Regions from separate parts of the Homo sapiens genome. Here regions 2, 3, 4 and 5 are each linked to region 1. The links are contacts of gene promoters, found by promoter capture Hi-C in blood cells and fetal thymus (Javierre and others, 2016). All regions are on one chromosome and are shown on one strand. Each heading gives the region's core, a stretch centred on a gene start or on the middle of the fragment in contact. The rest is flanking DNA. Distances are from core to core; before and after follow the strand shown.

Region 1 (3,390 bases), core at 1-2,500:
AGGCGGAGTGGGGAGGAGGGAGCCCTCCGGAGTTCGGGAGCAGCACGTTGTGAGGGTCCACACAAGGGTGATGCCAGACCGAACACCATTAGGGCCTGGGTGTGAGTGTGACTCGGAGGCACCTGGGGGCCGTTGTAGGGCCGGGAAAAGCCAGGAACTGGCTGGAGCAGCACCCCAGCATCCCAGGGACCAAAGTCTGGGGGATTTGCATGTCTGAGGTTGCACTTGTGGGAAGACTTTTTGGAACCACTTAATCTCTGTGGCTCTGTGTAAGACCCGCGAAATAAAAAGAGGCAGTAGTACTCTTTGGAAGATTGTTTTAGGGATTAAATGAATAAAAAGCGTTTAGAACACTGCAGGACGCATTGTAGGCGCTGTATGGGTTTATGAAACCGAATATAAACAAATAAGCACGTCCCCCACCCAGCCAACGGCTTTGGGGGCCCCGTTCTGGCCAGTCCTGAGCCCCTCCACACGGCCCACGGCGGGCTGCGGGTCTCCCATCCGAGGAGGGTGCCGCTTTTCTGCCCCCGCTCCCTGGGTTCTGCGCCCAGCGCCATCCCGTGCGCCCCCGACCCTTGGGCATGGGGCACATGCCGCGGGGAGCCGCCAGGGAGACCCCAGAGGAGCGCGCCGCGGGCCGGCTTCCCCGGATGCCCCACCCACCTCCTCTTGGCGCTGCCCACCACCTGCCTCGGCTGCTCGGCCCCCGGCTCGCGAGGCTGCGCCCCCGACCCAGTCGGCGCCCACTCCTCGCCCTGCGGGCTCGCGGCAACTGGGCGGCCGGCCCGGCCCCTGCCCACCCCCAGCCCAGCCCGGCGCGCCGCACTGGGCATGCTCCGTAGCCTGGGCAGGTTGGGGCTGCGAGGCGACAGCTCGGGCTCTGGAGCCGGGAGGCGAGAACGAGGAGGGAGGCTCGGGGGCAGGGGAGGAGGAAGCGGCTGGCCGCTGAGGGGCGGCGGGGCCCGGAGCGGGGGACGCGCAGGGCCCGGCGGTGGGCGGGCGGGTCGGCGCTGCCCCGTGGGCTCGCTGGGGAGCCACGGCGGAGACCCCCGCCCTCAACTGAGGTAAGGACCGCGCGGCGCGGAGACGGGGAGGCGGGGAGGCCAGGGAGGGGGTGCGGAGGCAGGCGGGAGGGCGGGACTGGGGTGCGCCGGGAGGGGGCTTGGCGGCGGCTCTTTATGGCGAGGAGGGGGTGGTGGCGCCGCGCCGGGAGCAGTAAGTGAGCTGCACCGCCAACAAGATCTCTCACACACAGACACACACACGCACACGCACACACGGGCGCGCACACACACGCGCGTACACACTGGGTCTCCAGGCAGCGGCCGTCGCCGCATCCCCGGCAGCAGCTCCAGGCAAAGTGACAGGTAGGAAAAGGCATTTCGGGTCCCGCCCGAGGATGCTCCCGCCCGCCTTGGCCCTCAGGGCTTGTTTGCTTTCCGCGGGTGCGTCCCGGACGCGCGCGCGCGCGCACCCGGATGCCCAGCGGGGACCCCGTGCAGGTGCCGGGTGCCAGGCGCCCTGTGCGCGCGGGAGGCAGGGGACCCAGACGCCATCCCCCTTCCCCTGCAGTCATCGCCTGCTGGGTTTCCTCAGACTCTCTCCAGACGTTCACCCTCTTCTGGGCTAGAAATAGCTCGGCTCGACGTGTATATGATTATTTTGGTTGGAAATAGTTGGCACCGTGCAACGCATGTAAATGTGTATGCGTGTGGATCTTCTTGCCTCTTCTGGGGAAATCATAGAAATGATTGACCGTTTCCACTTAAAACAACACTGACAGGCTTAGCACTCATTGGGGGCAGGGTTCGGGCCTCCTAAAAGCCTGTTAGTGAAGGAAATCCTTATTTTCAGAATTTTAAAGTTGCTTTTGCTTTAACCAATTAGACTCTGTATAGTACAATACTTCTGAGTGTAGACTTCGTATATGGTACTGAATCGAAGTATGGAAATATGGAATTCTCTAATTTCCAAGTGTGTTTAAGTGCAACTTTATCTAGAATCATAAAACTAGCATTTTCCTAGAGAGAAATACAACTGCCCACTATAGTTTCCATAAATATGGATATATCTGAAAGATGACCCTACTCTTCCAACTTTTTTTCCTCTTAACTTCTGTAGTGATTCTAGCTATTGTTCTAAAACATGTATTTGAAATTTAATTTTGGCCAGAATATTCAGGAAAGGTGTTTTTTTTTCCATATACGTAATACTTAGTGGTCTATATATTTAAGTTATAGGTATGTGGAGATAGCTGTTTAATAATTCTTTTTGTCTGGAAATAACGTTATTCAAACATAGGCAGCTATGTATCATTTTAAAATGATATTGAATTTCCCCTTAAAGAGAAATCAGATTTATAATGTAAACATGACCAGGAAAAGCAACTGGTGACTTTACCTGGGGAGGCTCCAAGGAGGTTAAGAAAGTATCTGAACAACTGTGTTTTTCAGAATAGAAAAATTGTGTGTGTGTTGCGGGGGAAGGTAAAATTTTAACTTTATTCTTTTATTGTTTTCAAGACGGCTGTTTTCAGAAATGTGTGGTTGAACTGAGACCCTCATATTTTATACTCTTCAAATTTGAGTGGCCTCAGTTATAGAATCATACAGAAGATCAAAAGTCTAGCTCAGCAGGGGCATGTGGTGTAATCCCTCACTATCTGTGTTATGTAATCCAGAATGCTGTTTTTCATAGGACAGTCTTGCATGATCCTTAGCTGGTGTATTGATCTATTATATCATCTTCCTTTTGAACTGTAGTAGTTTAATAAATGATTGCCATCTTTGGAGAGCACCTGTTTTCATAAAAAATCACTTTTTGAAATGGCAAAACATTTTTATTGGCACTTTTATGAACGTAAGACTTGCTGCCAGACGAGTAACCTTTTGAATGTGACGTATTATAACATATCTAAAGGTACCATGTATTAGCTTATGGACTACACTTCCTTCCAACTATATTATTACTCAACAGTTGGAACTTAGTTTTGATGGTATTACTACCCAGCTCTGAATTAATCGCTGTTGAAAATGCTGTTCTACAAGTAACTGTCAAAACAGAATTTCTAACTCCATTTGATCACTGGGTGCACATTTAAATCTGTCGGAATAACTCTACCTTTATTTTGCAAATGCATACCCACGCAGAAAGCTTTGTTCTAAAATACTCTATTGGAAGTTTTATATTTATATGCCTGAAAATGTGAGTGATGTTAAACTGCTTACATGTCCTGGAATCGTGAGGCGGTGTGTTTTTGCCTTATGAGATAAAGAAATATGGTAGTTGAAAAAGTGTTACAGGTTACCAAAAACCTTTTGCAGGAAAAGATTTTAAAAATTTGTATCACCTCTGAAATATTTCAACCACAGCAGAGTCCATTCAGTG
Region 2 (3,428 bases), core at 438-2,937, 300 kb after region 1:
AGAGTCTTACTAGCTAGGTTAACACAAACTTTTTATGAAATAATAGTCACCCTGAACAGCTACTTTCCCCTAAATTAAAAAGGCTACAAAATTTTTGTCTTACCCCAAATTTAATGTATAAAAATTACCTGAACTCTAGAGATGAAAAATGTAAACATAGCACCCTCTATACTAGGAATCTTAACCATTTATTGATGTCACACACATATTCTCTCCCATATTTGTAGATTTGTTAAAGAGAATTCACAGGCCTCCTTATATTTGAATACAACTGTCTCAAGAACTCTTAAAAATGTACTTCTTGAAGTATTCTTGGACCTGGCATGAAACAATAAAGCTGTGAATGAACACATAATTCATTTACCTACAGCTACTTCTTAGTCTATTTTGGGAAGTCCTACTCTGCCACTGAAGTGGTGCTTTCTCCCACTCAGGAAGAGGAACTGTCAGCACTCTCATTCAGAACTTGCCTTCTACTTAGCACGGATGGCGGAAAGTACAAAAACGCTGGGCATGAGATGCTGTTAAAAATCCTTCTGTGCTCACAGGGGAGGCATTCCAAAGCCAGCCCTCATGGATAGAAGTAAAACTCCATCCTCAAGTCAAGCTGGACTTCTGAATGTCGAGTTAAAATGAAATTATCATGGTAACACATTACCTGGGCTTCCAATCAGGGAGCGATTGAAGGCTCCTTGGTGGCTAAGGTATGGCTCAGAGCCAAGTGTGGTGTTCCAGGGTACCAAGTCCTCTGCTCAATAGCTTTCATTCTGAGTGGCACCAACACATTTATAATGGAGAGTCTCTCCTAACTTTTATCATCACCAGGAAGTGTGTTCATCAAGGTGTTATCTATTCTACTAGCCTTGATGCTCACTGTTCTAGTTAAAAGGCTATCCAAAAATACTATGTCTTGGGGTACTACTGAGATTTGTTGAAACATTGGATAATTGTTCCCCTTCCCCCTCACCCAACCCATCATGTTGACAGTAAAGTCCCTTATCCTTGAGGCAGCTGACATTTCAGAGGGGCTCAAGGGTGCTTAGCTTGAAAACAAGAACAAAATATGTCTGATCACGCCCGTGTCAACTGTGGTTAAGTGTGGGAACCAGGATAAGGACAACTGAAGGCATGGATTGAGTTGTAAGGGGCCGCCTCCTTTTCCCTAGGCCCAGTTATTGTCAACATGAGGGTTTGTTCTAGAGCTACTGTCTTATCTGCCACATTCCTTTTTCATAAGAAGGCAATTTGGTAGCATCAGAATTTATCATTGTTTTTGTCCAAAAATGTGTGTCCCAGGCCAGGCGCTGTGGCTCATGCCTGTAATCCTAGCACTTTGGGAGGCCGAGGTGGGTGGATCACCTGAGGTCAGGAGTTTGAGACCAGCCTCACCAATATGATGAAACCCCGTCTCTACTAAAAATACAAAAAATTAGCCAGGTGTGGTGGCGTGCACCTGTAGTCCCAGCTACTTGGGAGGCTGAGGCGGGAGAATTGCTTGAACCTGGGATGCAGAGGTTGCAGTGAGCTGAGATAGCGCCACTGCACTCCAGCCTAGGTGACAGAGTGAGACTCTGTCTCAAAAAATAAAAAATAAAAAATAAATGTGTGTCCCTCCAGTGCCGCTTGCCCCTTGTTCTCCCAAGCACCAGGGGGACCCCTGGTCTTAGATTCAAGTTGCATCACTAGACTAACCAGCTCTGGGAACCAGAGGGACACTGGAGGAACTAGTTTGGGAAATGAAAAACATCTGCAATGAGAGGTAATTTTATTCTCCTCTTCCTTTTACCCTAGTCTCACTCTCCATAGTAGGACCTGGATCTTTGCATCAGAGAAAACATAATGAACAATAACTGGAATGTGTGTTTCTTTCTTTTCTGCCCTAGTATTACTAGAACATTTGCATCGGGAAAAACAGAAAAGGTGATCTTTCAAGCACTCAAGGAGTTAGGTCTTCCCAGTGGAAAGGTATGCATTAACTTAATAATGTATTTCTAAAACCATTTTGTTTATTTATCTTCTCATATGTAATGAGCTAGATTATTTATATTAAACTGATCTAAATTAGATTTGGAATTATATGTCAGTGACATATAGTACAGTTAATTTTCTTTTCTTTCTTCTTCCTCCCTCTCCCTTCCTCTCTCCCTCCCTCCTTTCCTTCCTCCCTTCCTTCCTTTTGTTGCCTGGGCATTTTAACCTAAATCTCTAAAAATGTAAATAGTTTGCTTCAAATGATTTTTGTCACCTTTCTTAAGAAAAGGAAATGAAGGCCAGCTTGCTGTGTTACACAGTTTTTATTTTAGAGAAGCTCACCAACACTGCCTCAACCAGGCACAACATTAGCATGAATAATTAACTAATAAATTCAATTCTACAAGATGGCTATGCAATATTTTGTGAAGCATCTCTCCCCGCACCATTTGTATTCATGGCCCTTCAAATTTAAAATAATTGAAATTAATTTATTGACTTGAAGAAAGATTGAAGCCTGGTACTATTTTAATAAGTCCTATTTGAAATATAAATTTCAGTTTGAAAAGTAAAATCTTACATGGTTACCCTAAGCCCGTTCACATGGTCTTGCAAAAATTCACAAAATAAGCATAATTAAACCTTGGGCTTGATTTATTCAGCATCCCTCAGGCAGGCACTTTTCTCCCTCAAGGTGAGTTGGAGGAAATATTTATATTCGTTCTTTGGGGTATTTCCCAGAGCAAGGCCAGCTGTAGCCAGGTGTTCGCACACACAGAATCTGGCAGCATGATAACTAGAAACACTGATGTACACGCACTGTTTTTTAGTGAGATGGCCTGGCAGTGCCTGGAAGTTGGCCTCCTGGCTTCTGTCAGCAGGAATCAGAGATGAAGACCCTGAGTCCAAGTGGTCTTCACTGTGCTTCATGACCCTGTAGCTTCTCACCCTCCAAGGGAAAAACGGTTCTGTGATTCATAACATGATTTTATTCCTTACAGAATGATGAAATTGAGCCCACAGCATTTTCTTATGAAAAGTTCTATGAACTGACACAAAAGATTTGTCCTCGGACAGATATAGAAGATCTTTTCAAAAAAATGTAAGTTCCACTTATGAGGAAGTGCCATATAAATATTATCACTGTCCTTTTCGATTTTTTAAAACGTTTTTGTCCTATTTTAATAGAGTATGTTGGTAGCATCTAGGAATATCTAGTCAGGGTTACATTTTTAACCCCATACTTTATCAGTGTAAAAGTTCACTCTGAGTTTTTGAGAAACTTTTACGTATATTAATTGCAGCACCTGGAACTTTTTTTTGCATTGGCTTTACTAACTACCTACAATTTTAACCTGCTCCTTTAGGTATTAACCCATTATGTGAACTAACTAGATTCAATTTGGAATGTTAATATGTTTTTGAAAAGTTGATTCATTCCAATTATTTCAAATGGA
Region 3 (3,319 bases), core at 466-2,965, 270 kb before region 1:
TGTGGAGAGTTCATTTTTTCCCTATGAAAAAAGAGATTCAATTAGTTTATTCATTTTGTAGGTAATTTTGAGGGCATTGGGGAAAACAGAAGTAGGTGGTCCCTCGAAGCAACTTGTACAATAAAATATTTTGGCCTCAATTTGACACAAAATGATGTTGTACATTGCTGCACATAAGTCCCATGGAAACTTATTATGTTATAAACAACAAGAGACACTCTTAGAAGGGAATACTTGGCTCCTTTCCAGTAGAGTTCTGAATTCTGGAGAAACATTCGACTGCATGTTTTCTAGCAATGAGATATTCGATTCAGTCCTTGAGTGTATGTGGGTTTCAGTTTTGTTTGAGTTGTGGCTTTTTATGAAATCCATAGTGGTAGAATTTTCAAGATGGACGCAGTAAACACTGGCCAGTCTTCTGACTCAGTGAAATAATTGGTTTCCTGGGGATTTCCATACCTGGGTTTGCCAAAGCCAGTAGGAAACATGGGGAAACCCCATCTCTACCAAAATACAAAAATTAGCCAGGTGTGGTGGTGGGCGCTGGTAGTCCCGGCTACTTGGGAGGCTGAGGCAGGAGAATCACTGGAACCCGGGAGGCGGAGGTTGCAGTGAGCCGAGATCGCGCCACTGCATTCAAGCCTGGGCGACTGAGTGAGACCACCCTGTCTCAAAAAAAAAAAAAAAAAGAAAAGAAAACACGGTTAGTCACAAGTTGCCTTGAGTCTGTTGTGAATATGCCAATGTTTATTGATCACTTTGCTGCTCCTGACTCTCTTTATAAGAAGAATCATCTTTTGAGGGGAATATTTAATGAACTATCTCCATAACCTCATAAAACAGTCAATAAATGTGTAATTTACTTTTTCTCTGATGCTTAATTTGTCTTTGATGCTTCTTAGAACACAGGTTTTCTGCTTAATTTAGCTCATCATCAAGAGAGAATTCCGGGAAGCTTTAGGGCATTTTAATTCATTCCCAAAGAACATTTCATCATGTAGCTACTGGCTCTTTTTTTTCCCTCCACCAAGGGAATATAGACTGATTTTCCTTATTTCCCCTCTGACATCTTTGTAACAGGGTGATTGACTCATCCCTCTGCTTGAAGTTAGTCTTGTTAGACCTACCGCTGGGCTCTGAGACAGAACCTTAAATGCGGCTGATATCTCCTGTGTTTGGGAGAGAAAAGGCAAACTTCGGGATTTAAAATAAAATATTTTTTAAAGTAATGCATTTGTGCCTCCTCTAATCTTTTGCGGCTTGATGGGGAAATGGATTCTTCCTTGCCAGCACTTATTGGATCTTCTCCCAGAAGCCAAACTTGCAGAGTGGAAACTGGCTGCTTATAGACAGTGTTTCTGCTCATTGTCAAGTCTCAATTAACCACACAGTGGTTTGTTTTTGTTTGTTCTGTAGAAGAAAATTCTTTTTCATTTTTGTCAATATAAAGAATTGCCTTTTTAGGAAACAAATATAGTTATGCCTTATTTTCTTGAGTATAAAACTTAGACATGTTTACTCTCCTTCTGGGCAATACCAGGGCATTGGAACAATTTTAATTCCACTGGTCCCTCATCAGTTTATTTTTGAAATTTAATCTAATAGACTTTTAAACACATAAGACATTATTCTATGTTTTGATCATGGTTCATTTAGATATGTCTACATATTCACATATTCTTTGTGAAACGTTTTTTCTTGTATCTTCTGCCCATTTGGGATCATCATCTTGTACTTCCTCTAGAAGTTCCTTTCATGCGGTCTACTGGTGGGAAACTCTTTGGAGTTTTTATTTTTGTTTTTGTGCAGAAATGTCTTTGTTTGTTTAATGTAGTAATAGATGAGAATCTACATTTCCTCCATTCTGGAATGATATTTTCACTGGATATAAAATTTTGTGTTGGTGGTTATTTTCCTTTAGCACACTGAAGATAAACTTCCACCACCCTCTAGCATCTATTGCTGTTCTTGAGAGGTTAACTGTTAGTCTTAATACAGTTCTTTTGATGATAATTTATATTCCCCCTCCCCCCACCGACAGCATTTAGTATTTTTTTCTTACATTTTGTGCAGTTTTTCTATAGTGTGTCTAAATATGTGTTTGAGATGGCTAGATGGATCACTTTCCTCAGTTCTGCAAAAACTCTAAACTATCATGAAAGCAAATATGGCTTCTGTCATTTTTTTTCTTTCCTTCTAAGATTCCATATATATTTGCATATAAAATAAAATGAACCTTTTTACTCCATCTCCTCTGTCAATGAATTGTTTTTAGTATTTTCCATCCTTCGTCTTTCTTTACTGCTCTGTGGGCAATTTTTTTTCCTACACTTTTTGCAATGCACCAATTTTTTGTTTAAACTTCTATTCTATGCATCCACTGAGTGTTTAATTTCAGGTTTTGTATTTTATTTCCAGATGTTCTATTTGGTTTATTTTCAAATATATAATCTGTATGTCTTAGCTTGTTGCAGGGAAGCTTTCCTGTGAGATTTCTCACTCTGGGAAAGCCTCAGCTCTTGACTGTAGGCTCCTCACCTTTCAAGGCTATCAAAGGGTGAACACACAATTTCCATCATGAGCAAAAGCCTATCAGGGCAAAAGCAGCTTCCTTGCTTATTACCTTTCTAGGTTCAATGTCCCCTTCAGTTTGACCCTGATCATTAAGTTGTTGTAGTTCTCTGGGTCTTTAAAGATAGTTTTAATGGCCAGGCATGGTGGCTTATGTCTGTAATCCCAACACTTTGGGAGGCCAAGACAGCAGGATCACTTGAGGTCAGGAGTTTGAGACCAGCCTCGCCAACATGGTGAAACACTGACTCTATTAAAAACAATACAAACATTAGTCAGGCATGCTGGTGTGCACCTGTAATCCCAGCTACCCTGGAGGCTAAGGTGGGAGAATTGCTTGGACCTGGGAGGTGGAGGCTGCAGTGAGCCGAGATCATGCCACTGCACTCCAGACTGTGTGACAGCGCAAGACTCTATATCGAAAAAAAAAAAAAGCTTTAGTATCAAACCCAGCTTCTTAATTTTTTTCAGTGGAAAGGATGGTCCAAATAACCTAATCAGCCATTACCAGAAATAGAAAGTCCCCACATTGCATTTCTGAAATATTTGAATTAGTTAACATCTGTATCAGTCAGGGTTCAACTAGAAAAACAGAGCCAGTAAAAGATTGTGTGTGTGTGTGACAGTAATTGGCTTATGCAATTTTGGTGGATGGCTATCTGCCCCGTTCTCAATGCTGTCTCTCTAATGATGGACCCTAGCAGGCAGGCAGGAAAGGAAAATTACAAGTAGGCTTGGTGACTAGAGT
Region 4 (3,636 bases), core at 30-2,529, 280 kb after region 1:
TCTGTGTGGCAAAATTAAAAACTGGATGGCATGAAGAAGTGGGCAGAATCCCTTGTATTACATGAGACTTTGTTGCCTCCAAGCTCTATGATCTGGAGCCAGTAATTTAATGATCATAATCTGGGGTCGGCAGGTGCAGGCCATGGGCTGAACACAACCCTTAGCCTAATTTTGTATGTCCTGTGAACTAAGAATGGCTTTTACATTTTTGAAGCGATGTTTAAAAAATAAATTTAAAAAAAAAACAGGAAAACTAGACAACATGGAACTATGTGTGCCCCTGAAGCCTAAAATATTTATTATCTGGCTCTTAATGGAAAAGATTTGCTGGTCTCTAATAATAATACTAATAATAGTAGCAGCAGCAGCAGGAAAATAGTTTATATTGTATGTCAGACACTGTTCAAAGTGCTTGATATGTATTATCTCATTTAACTCTCACAAGTCTGTGGGATAGGTATTATGATTATCCTCATTTTACAAATAAAGATGCCCAGAGAGGTTGAGTAACTTGACTTTTCAAGGCCATACGTCCAGTAAGTGGTGTTTTGAGCCCAGGCAGTGGCTCTCTCTAGTGCTCTAGATCCTGAATTCTACCACCACCCTGTGCTGCAATTCACAGTTGGCTTCTTTTTCTTTTTCTCTTTTTTTTTCTGAGGCAGAGTCTCACTCTGTCCCCCAAGGCTGTAATACAGTGGTGTGTTCTCAGCTCACCACAACCTCTGCCTCCCGGGTTCAAGTTATTCTTGTGCCTTGGCCTCCCAAGTACCTGGGATTACAGGTGCATGCCACCACGCCCAGCTAATTATTGTATTTTTAGTAGAGACCGGGTTTCACCATGTTGACCAGGCTGGTCTCAAACTCCTGGCCTCAAGTGATCCACCCACCTCGGCCTCCCAAAGTGTTGGGTTACAGGCGTGAGCCACCGTGCACAGCCAGTTGGCTGATTTAGCTTATCTGTATAAAAACTGGGGCAGGGAGTGGGGGGAACAGCCTCTTTCACCTGTAACACTGTGTGATGTTAATGTACTTTTTAGGCAAATGTTTTAAGATCATTATCTGTGGGAGCTATAGTCATACAGTAGTACTTCCCGAATTAGTGGCCTGAAAAAAGGATTCCTTAAAAAAGTCCACATATAAAGGGGGTTCTTTGGTCAGCTAAGCATGAGAAAGCCTTTAGACAGGTTTCTTTATGGTAGTGCTTTCAGAAGAAGTATTTCTTTTTTTTTTTTTTGGAGGAGCTGGGTCTCAGATATATTTGAGTCTTAGTGCTTTACTCTTTTTTTTTAAGTTTTAGGGTACATATGCACAACGTGCAGGTTAGTTACATATGTATACATGTGCCATGTTGGTGTGCTGCACCCATCAACAGAAGAAGTATTATTCTTATGTGGATCTCAGCAAGGAAGAAAGCTATTCAGCTGTTTCCTAAACTTTTTTTTTAATTTTTTGATGAGACACCATTAACATCTTTCAGAACCAGTGTGGCACTGAATAAAAGTCAGTAAATTATATCATAGAGGCATTATTCAGCTCAATATTTTTCTAGAAGTATCAAAACAATGATGTAATCTAAGGATTCATTTATTCATATTTACCATAAATATTCTATTTATTTTCCCTGTTTTTCCACTTCCACTTGTCTTCACTCCTCACTGTTTTCTGCTGTGTGTGGGGAGACTTTACCTTAAAAGACAGAGAACCAGGTAATGAAACTCAAGCCCACCGATTTAGATTCCTTTTAGTAGCTCTTATATTGAAAGTCCTATTTAGTTTATAGAATTACCTATAGATTTGATTTGCTTGAACTAAATTGGTGGATGCTGCCTAGTTAAGAGTTAGACAAAGGCTTCTTGATTGATTATATTGATCTCAGACTAAGCAGGTATGATTGTCATCAAGTTGAAATACTATTTACTTTGGCATGACTTAATTTGCCAACATTGTCAACAGGTACCTGTCAGGAAGAATGTGACCGATAAATACAGGCCATCAACTAAAGAAACAACTCTATGAACACCTTTTAATTCACCAGCTGTTTACTCATCCCATACCAACAGAATTTCACAAATTTGACTGAGTTGAGTCCAAAAGTAATGCTGTCAAAAAACTGATGGTTGCTGACTGGCTTAAGATGATGCTTTTGGTTTTCTCAACATTTTAAAATCCCTCCATTCTTCTAGAGCTTTCCATTTGGATGCCAAATAATGTTACATAAAATAAACCAAAAATCTTATTTTATTTTTGAAAGATTTCTGGGGATGTAGGAATGTAGTTGGTCTGTGGACTTTCAGGCACTAAAGAACATCATGTGTTGTATATCTAAATCAGAAGCACAAGTGAATATAGGCATTAATGTAAGTATACTCTATGTATACATTTTTCCCTCCTGATCTTTTGTGTCCATAACAGTATATTTATTGTAGTAGATATTTGGAAATAGATGCAGTTATTTGTGACAAGATTCTATAGATCCAATAGGACATTGCTACAGGGTATCTATTAATATATAGAATCAGGCTTAGGCAATGCAAAAATTGTGTCTAAGGAATGCTAACAAAGCCATTTGGTATGGAAGTTTGGGACTGCAGCTTCTGAACAGCACAGGTGTCCTCTTTTTTCTTGTGACTATTTAGAGGCTCTTTTTGACCTAACTGGCCAGTGTTGTCAAGATAACCAGCAAGGCTGATAGACTGTTTTGACTCTCTGGGAGTGACTAAATTAATTTTGTCTAGGAATGTATAAATATTATCCTCACCCATTCAATTATCTCTTTCAAACATAGCCACCCATACTCATAGATGGCAGCTTATTTCTTGCACAAATACTCATTCACCATGCTCTGAGGGTAATTTAAGAATCATATGATTTAATTTTGTCTAGGAATGTATAAATATTATCCTCACCCATTCAGTTCTATCTTTCAAATACAGCCTCCCATGCTAATAGATGGCAGCTTCTTTTTTGCTCACATACTCATTCAGCATGCTCTGAGGGTGATTTAAAAATCATATGACACTTAATATATTTCTTCTTTCACTTTCATCAATTTTACTCTGTAGCTTCAGACTGTCAAGAAAAAGAGGCCCCAGTTGCTCTCTTTTTCCCCCTTTCAATTCTTCTCTTTTAGAATTTGAAAACTTTATGAGGATTATTATTGACTTCCCAAGGGCTTTTGAAATTAATGTTGGGTTGTCTTTTTAATTTTTGTGGGGGCAAAAGTCCTGTTGCTTTTTAGCCACCAGTTTCAGAAGTAGGTTGCTGTCAGTCATTATCACAGGCTCACTGATGTAGCTTTCTATCCTGGGTTTATCAACTGGACTTGTGTAGGATGGCAGCTTAGCTCCTTTATTATGCAGGAAAGTCTTCACTGTCTTTTTTCTTGCACTCATCTTTCTTGCAGCAACAGTTCATGGTGAATTGCCCTCTTGTCCCATGGGCATGTGGGCGTTTCCAACACTGACATTGATATCTTGTGACACTAACACTTAGTACCTGCACTTGTCTGTCCTTGGTGGAGCCAGGAGAAATCAGCTGACATGAAAGAGAGAACTTGTTTAATTTTTACTTCTTAACATGATTTAGAAGTTGGTCTGTTATACAAACAAACATTAGTGGTTTTGTTCCTTTTTAATT
Region 5 (3,353 bases), core at 668-3,167, 260 kb after region 1:
GGGATCATGCCCCTGCACTCCAGCCTGGGTGACAGAGCGAGACTCCATCTCGAAAAAAAAATAATAATAAAACAAAATTAAAAAATCAATACTAATTTACTTAGTTCAGACTATGTGTCAAGTGCTCTAATGCCCAGAAATAACCTGTGAGATAGGTATTGTGGTTGATGTTGTTGTCTCTGTTTTTAGAGATGAAGAAATGAATATCTAACCACATTTGGATCAGGTTCATCTAAAACCCTAAAGCCTATGTAAAATACCCAATTGTTTCTGCTGCTGGTGAGTTGGTTTTTATGCTTACATGTTTCTCTCACCTTCCACAGGAAGCTGTAATGTGAAATATGTACCACCAGATAAAATAACGGAAGAGGGATTTAGATTGAAGGGAAAAAAGTAAACAAGGGAGAGTACATCAAATGAGGGGTAAATTTAGCAGGCAGCAACTCAACAAGCAGCGAAAATGATCTGTAAAGTTGAAAGAGGTGAGCCTCAGATTTGCTTCTGGTGTTCCTGGTGGCTAAAGCAATGTAGAAAACACAAGTTGTTGTAGGGTTCACAGTGTCCATTAGATTGTAAGGAAAGCAACAGGTCAGTAGGAACAGAGTTTTTCCTGGTCCTAGGATCTGAAAAAAAATTCTTACAGAATTCTTACAAAATACACTCCCCCATAAAAAACTGTAATAAGTACAGAATGTTTCAGTAGTACAGTTGTTCAGTTATCTATGTGGTAGGATTCACGGGGAATCCATAAGAAATGCAGTAATTAAAACCAAAACACTTCAGAAACCCATCTGATCCTTTGTGATGATTGCTGGCATCAGTGGCAAGGAGAATAGCAGAGGCTTCTTCAGGTATGACTGCTGAGCAGTTACCTGAGCCGACTGCTGAGCAGTTACCTGAGCCCACTCCTGAACACTGTCAGTCTTTCATGTGTCAGCCTCAAAGCAGGTGTAGCATATTGTTCAAAACATTTGATCTGCATGCCTCAATGTCCTCACTTGTAAAATAGGTATAAATAGTGAAGCAGCGTTGTTTGTCTGGGGTAATACCCGAGGTTCGTTGTCCCACAGCCATGGAAAGCTAGGACGTGGACACATCAGAGTGAGGTTAAGAGTGGAAGTTTAATAGACAAAAGAAAGAGAAGAGCTCTCTGCACAGAAAGGGCTCCTGGAGAAAATGGGTTGCCACTTCCGCAGTGAAATGCAGAAAGTTTAATAAATGAACTTAAGGAGGGGGTATGTGATTTACACAGGGGATGAAAGATCGGTTGGAGGAGGCATGCCATTTGCAAGTGTGCAAAGAAGCTGGCCACTCCACCCTAATCTTTTATTATGCAGATGGTTATTCTAGCTGGCTGGTGCCATGTTGCCTCGTCCTTATTGTACACGTGGTGACAAAGAAAAGGGAAGATGGAGCCTCCGTGTTGAACATACCTGGCTTCCAGGTAGCCTTCTCTTGGCGCAGCTGCCAGCATTCACCTGTACAAGCTTCCAGCTTGTTTATCTATGTCTGTAGCTCGGTTTTTCAGGCTGCTCTTTGTTAGAAAAGAAATGATTTGGGGGCTACTTTTATTAAAAGGGAAGCCTTGCCGAAGACTCCTTGTACTGACACTATCTGCCTAATAATTTCTTTCTAGCTCCTATATCAATAATAAAAATGGTACCTCCCTCATAGGAATGTTGGGAGGATAATAAGTTAATGTAGAGAAAGTACTTAGAGCGTTGCCTGGCTCTTAGGAAGCACTGTGTATGTTACCTAGCAATAGTAGGCATATTACTAGGTGCCACAGGCCTTTTGAATTGCTCATCAGGAGACTAGAACGGCATCTCCCTGTTGGATTCCAGCTGAGCATCAGTTACTGGTGGAAGGGGGAAAGGTCTATATTTAACAACTTAACCCAATAGGAACATCTGTCCAAAGAATCAAAGGCCATCAAAAGGAATGCAGGAGCTACACATGCTGTTATTTTGTCTGACAGATTTTTTCACAAGGTAATACTTGTAGCACATAGCAAGGGTCTGTGATGGAGCAGCTACAGCCGTGCCCTCTGGCTCCTCATGTGGAATGTGAGCTGAGAGGCCCAGTGTCCTTTATCTCCTGGGATCTTAAAGCAGATAGGAGAGGCACAAATGGAATGAACATTCTATATCCTTCCAAGCAAGAGACCAAGCTCATGAGGGTAAAAGCAACTTAATAAGGACCCATGCCCATCTATTACATCAGTCCATAAATCATTCTGATGGCAGGATGTTATCACTGAGGGCTTTAGTTTAACTTGAAAAAAATAAAAATTTGTGGTTCTGAGAGAGGCGGTGTTTGTGCAGAATCACAAAGGATCTGCTAGGTATGAAGCTTAAAGCATTTCCCTGGAATAAGGAGAGGAAATAAATAAGCCATAAAGCATCTCTTGGGCTCTGAGCTTTCAGGATCTGATAGAAAGCTAGACCTCTTGGTTAATTCCAAACCAGACTCCACCTGCTTTCCCAGTCTGAAGGCCACACCCATCATTCTCCCTGGTTTATGAGGTCTCTTTGGTGGTAGTCACGCATAATGTGATTTAAATTGAATGAGATCCTTTATGGCCTCTTCCTCAGACTCCTCTTTGTTTCTCTCCAACCTTGACAAGGTCTTTTTAACTTCCTCTCCATTCTTATCAAACCAGGAAGCAAGGAGGGTGAGTCTCATATGTACCTAGTGGAGTCTACCTAGGCAGTGTTCGTTTATTGACCGTCCAACAATCTTCTGGCGATAGGCAGAGGGGCCCTGCTTGGTCAAGTTTGCCCAAGTCAGACAGGCATGGGCTTTGGAATCAGAGAAGCTGGCTTGAATTTCAGGTTTGTTACTATTTGACTGTGGCTTTGAATAATTTAGTCTCCTCTGAACCTTTTTCCCCCCTTCTCTCTGAAACCGCATTGGCCAATATGGTAACCACTAACCACATTGTGGCTGTTTAAATGAAAAATTAATTAAAATAAAAAATTCAGCACTTGGTTGCATTACCCACATTTCAAGTGCTCCCTGTGGCTCATGGTGAACGTATTGGGCAGAACCCATCTGGCACATTTCCATCATCACGGTAAATCCGTTGGACAATGTTGATCTAGTCTAAAACCTTGCAGAGTTATCATGAGATTTATGTGAGATAGTATTTGTGAAATACCTCACAACAAGAGCCCTAAAATTGTAGCTATTTTCTCATAAGTACGACCATTTAGTCAGCATTTACTTTGTCCCAGGTACTTAGACATTCTCAATATTAATTCTTTGAAAGCCCTGTGAGTCGGTATCAGTTTTCCCAGTTTACAGCTAGGAAAAGTGAAATATGGCAAGGTTAAGCAGAATAACTGCAAGAT

The links. The method cuts DNA at HindIII sites, captures the fragments that hold promoters and counts their contacts. A CHiCAGO score of 5 or more calls a contact.
Region 2: a contact is called between a fragment that was not itself captured here and the fragment with the promoter of PLCB4 in region 1, in 1 of 17 cell types (megakaryocytes). The highest score is 8.3, in megakaryocytes.
Region 3: a contact is called between a fragment that was not itself captured here and the fragment with the promoter of PLCB4 in region 1, in 1 of 17 cell types (megakaryocytes). The highest score is 5.8, in megakaryocytes.
Region 4: a contact is called between a fragment that was not itself captured here and the fragment with the promoter of PLCB4 in region 1, in 3 of 17 cell types (megakaryocytes, erythroblasts and M2 macrophages). The highest score is 10.4, in megakaryocytes.
Region 5: a contact is called between a fragment that was not itself captured here and the fragment with the promoter of PLCB4 in region 1, in 1 of 17 cell types (megakaryocytes). The highest score is 6.5, in megakaryocytes.

The regions. Positions count from the first base shown.
Region 1 is chr20:9,067,837-9,071,226 of GRCh38, forward strand. It overlaps PLCB4 (phospholipase C beta 4), which reads left to right and starts at 1,251. Exons shown (of 40, transcript NM_001377142.1): 1 at 1,251-1,370. The HindIII fragment of the contact is 10,687 bases long and covers 1-3,154 here.
Region 2 is chr20:9,369,331-9,372,758 of GRCh38, forward strand. It overlaps PLCB4 (phospholipase C beta 4), which reads left to right. Exons shown (of 40, transcript NM_001377142.1): 10 at 1,884-1,965; 11 at 2,973-3,073. Among named protein-coding and RNA genes, the nearest start is that of LAMP5, 140 kb to the right of the region's middle. The HindIII fragment of the contact is 4,180 bases long and covers 1-3,428 here.
Region 3 is chr20:8,795,206-8,798,524 of GRCh38, forward strand. All of the region lies in intron 31 of PLCB1 (phospholipase C beta 1), which reads left to right. Among named protein-coding and RNA genes, the nearest start is that of RNU105B, 34 kb to the right of the region's middle. The HindIII fragment of the contact is 1,524 bases long and covers 954-2,477 here.
Region 4 is chr20:9,349,921-9,353,556 of GRCh38, forward strand. All of the region lies in intron 7 of PLCB4 (phospholipase C beta 4), which reads left to right. Among named protein-coding and RNA genes, the nearest start is that of LAMP5, 160 kb to the right of the region's middle. The HindIII fragment of the contact is 6,190 bases long and covers 1-3,636 here.
Region 5 is chr20:9,327,725-9,331,077 of GRCh38, forward strand. The region is part of intron 4 of PLCB4 (phospholipase C beta 4); the gene reads left to right. Among named protein-coding and RNA genes, the nearest start is that of LAMP5, 190 kb to the right of the region's middle. The HindIII fragment of the contact is 865 bases long and covers 1,486-2,350 here.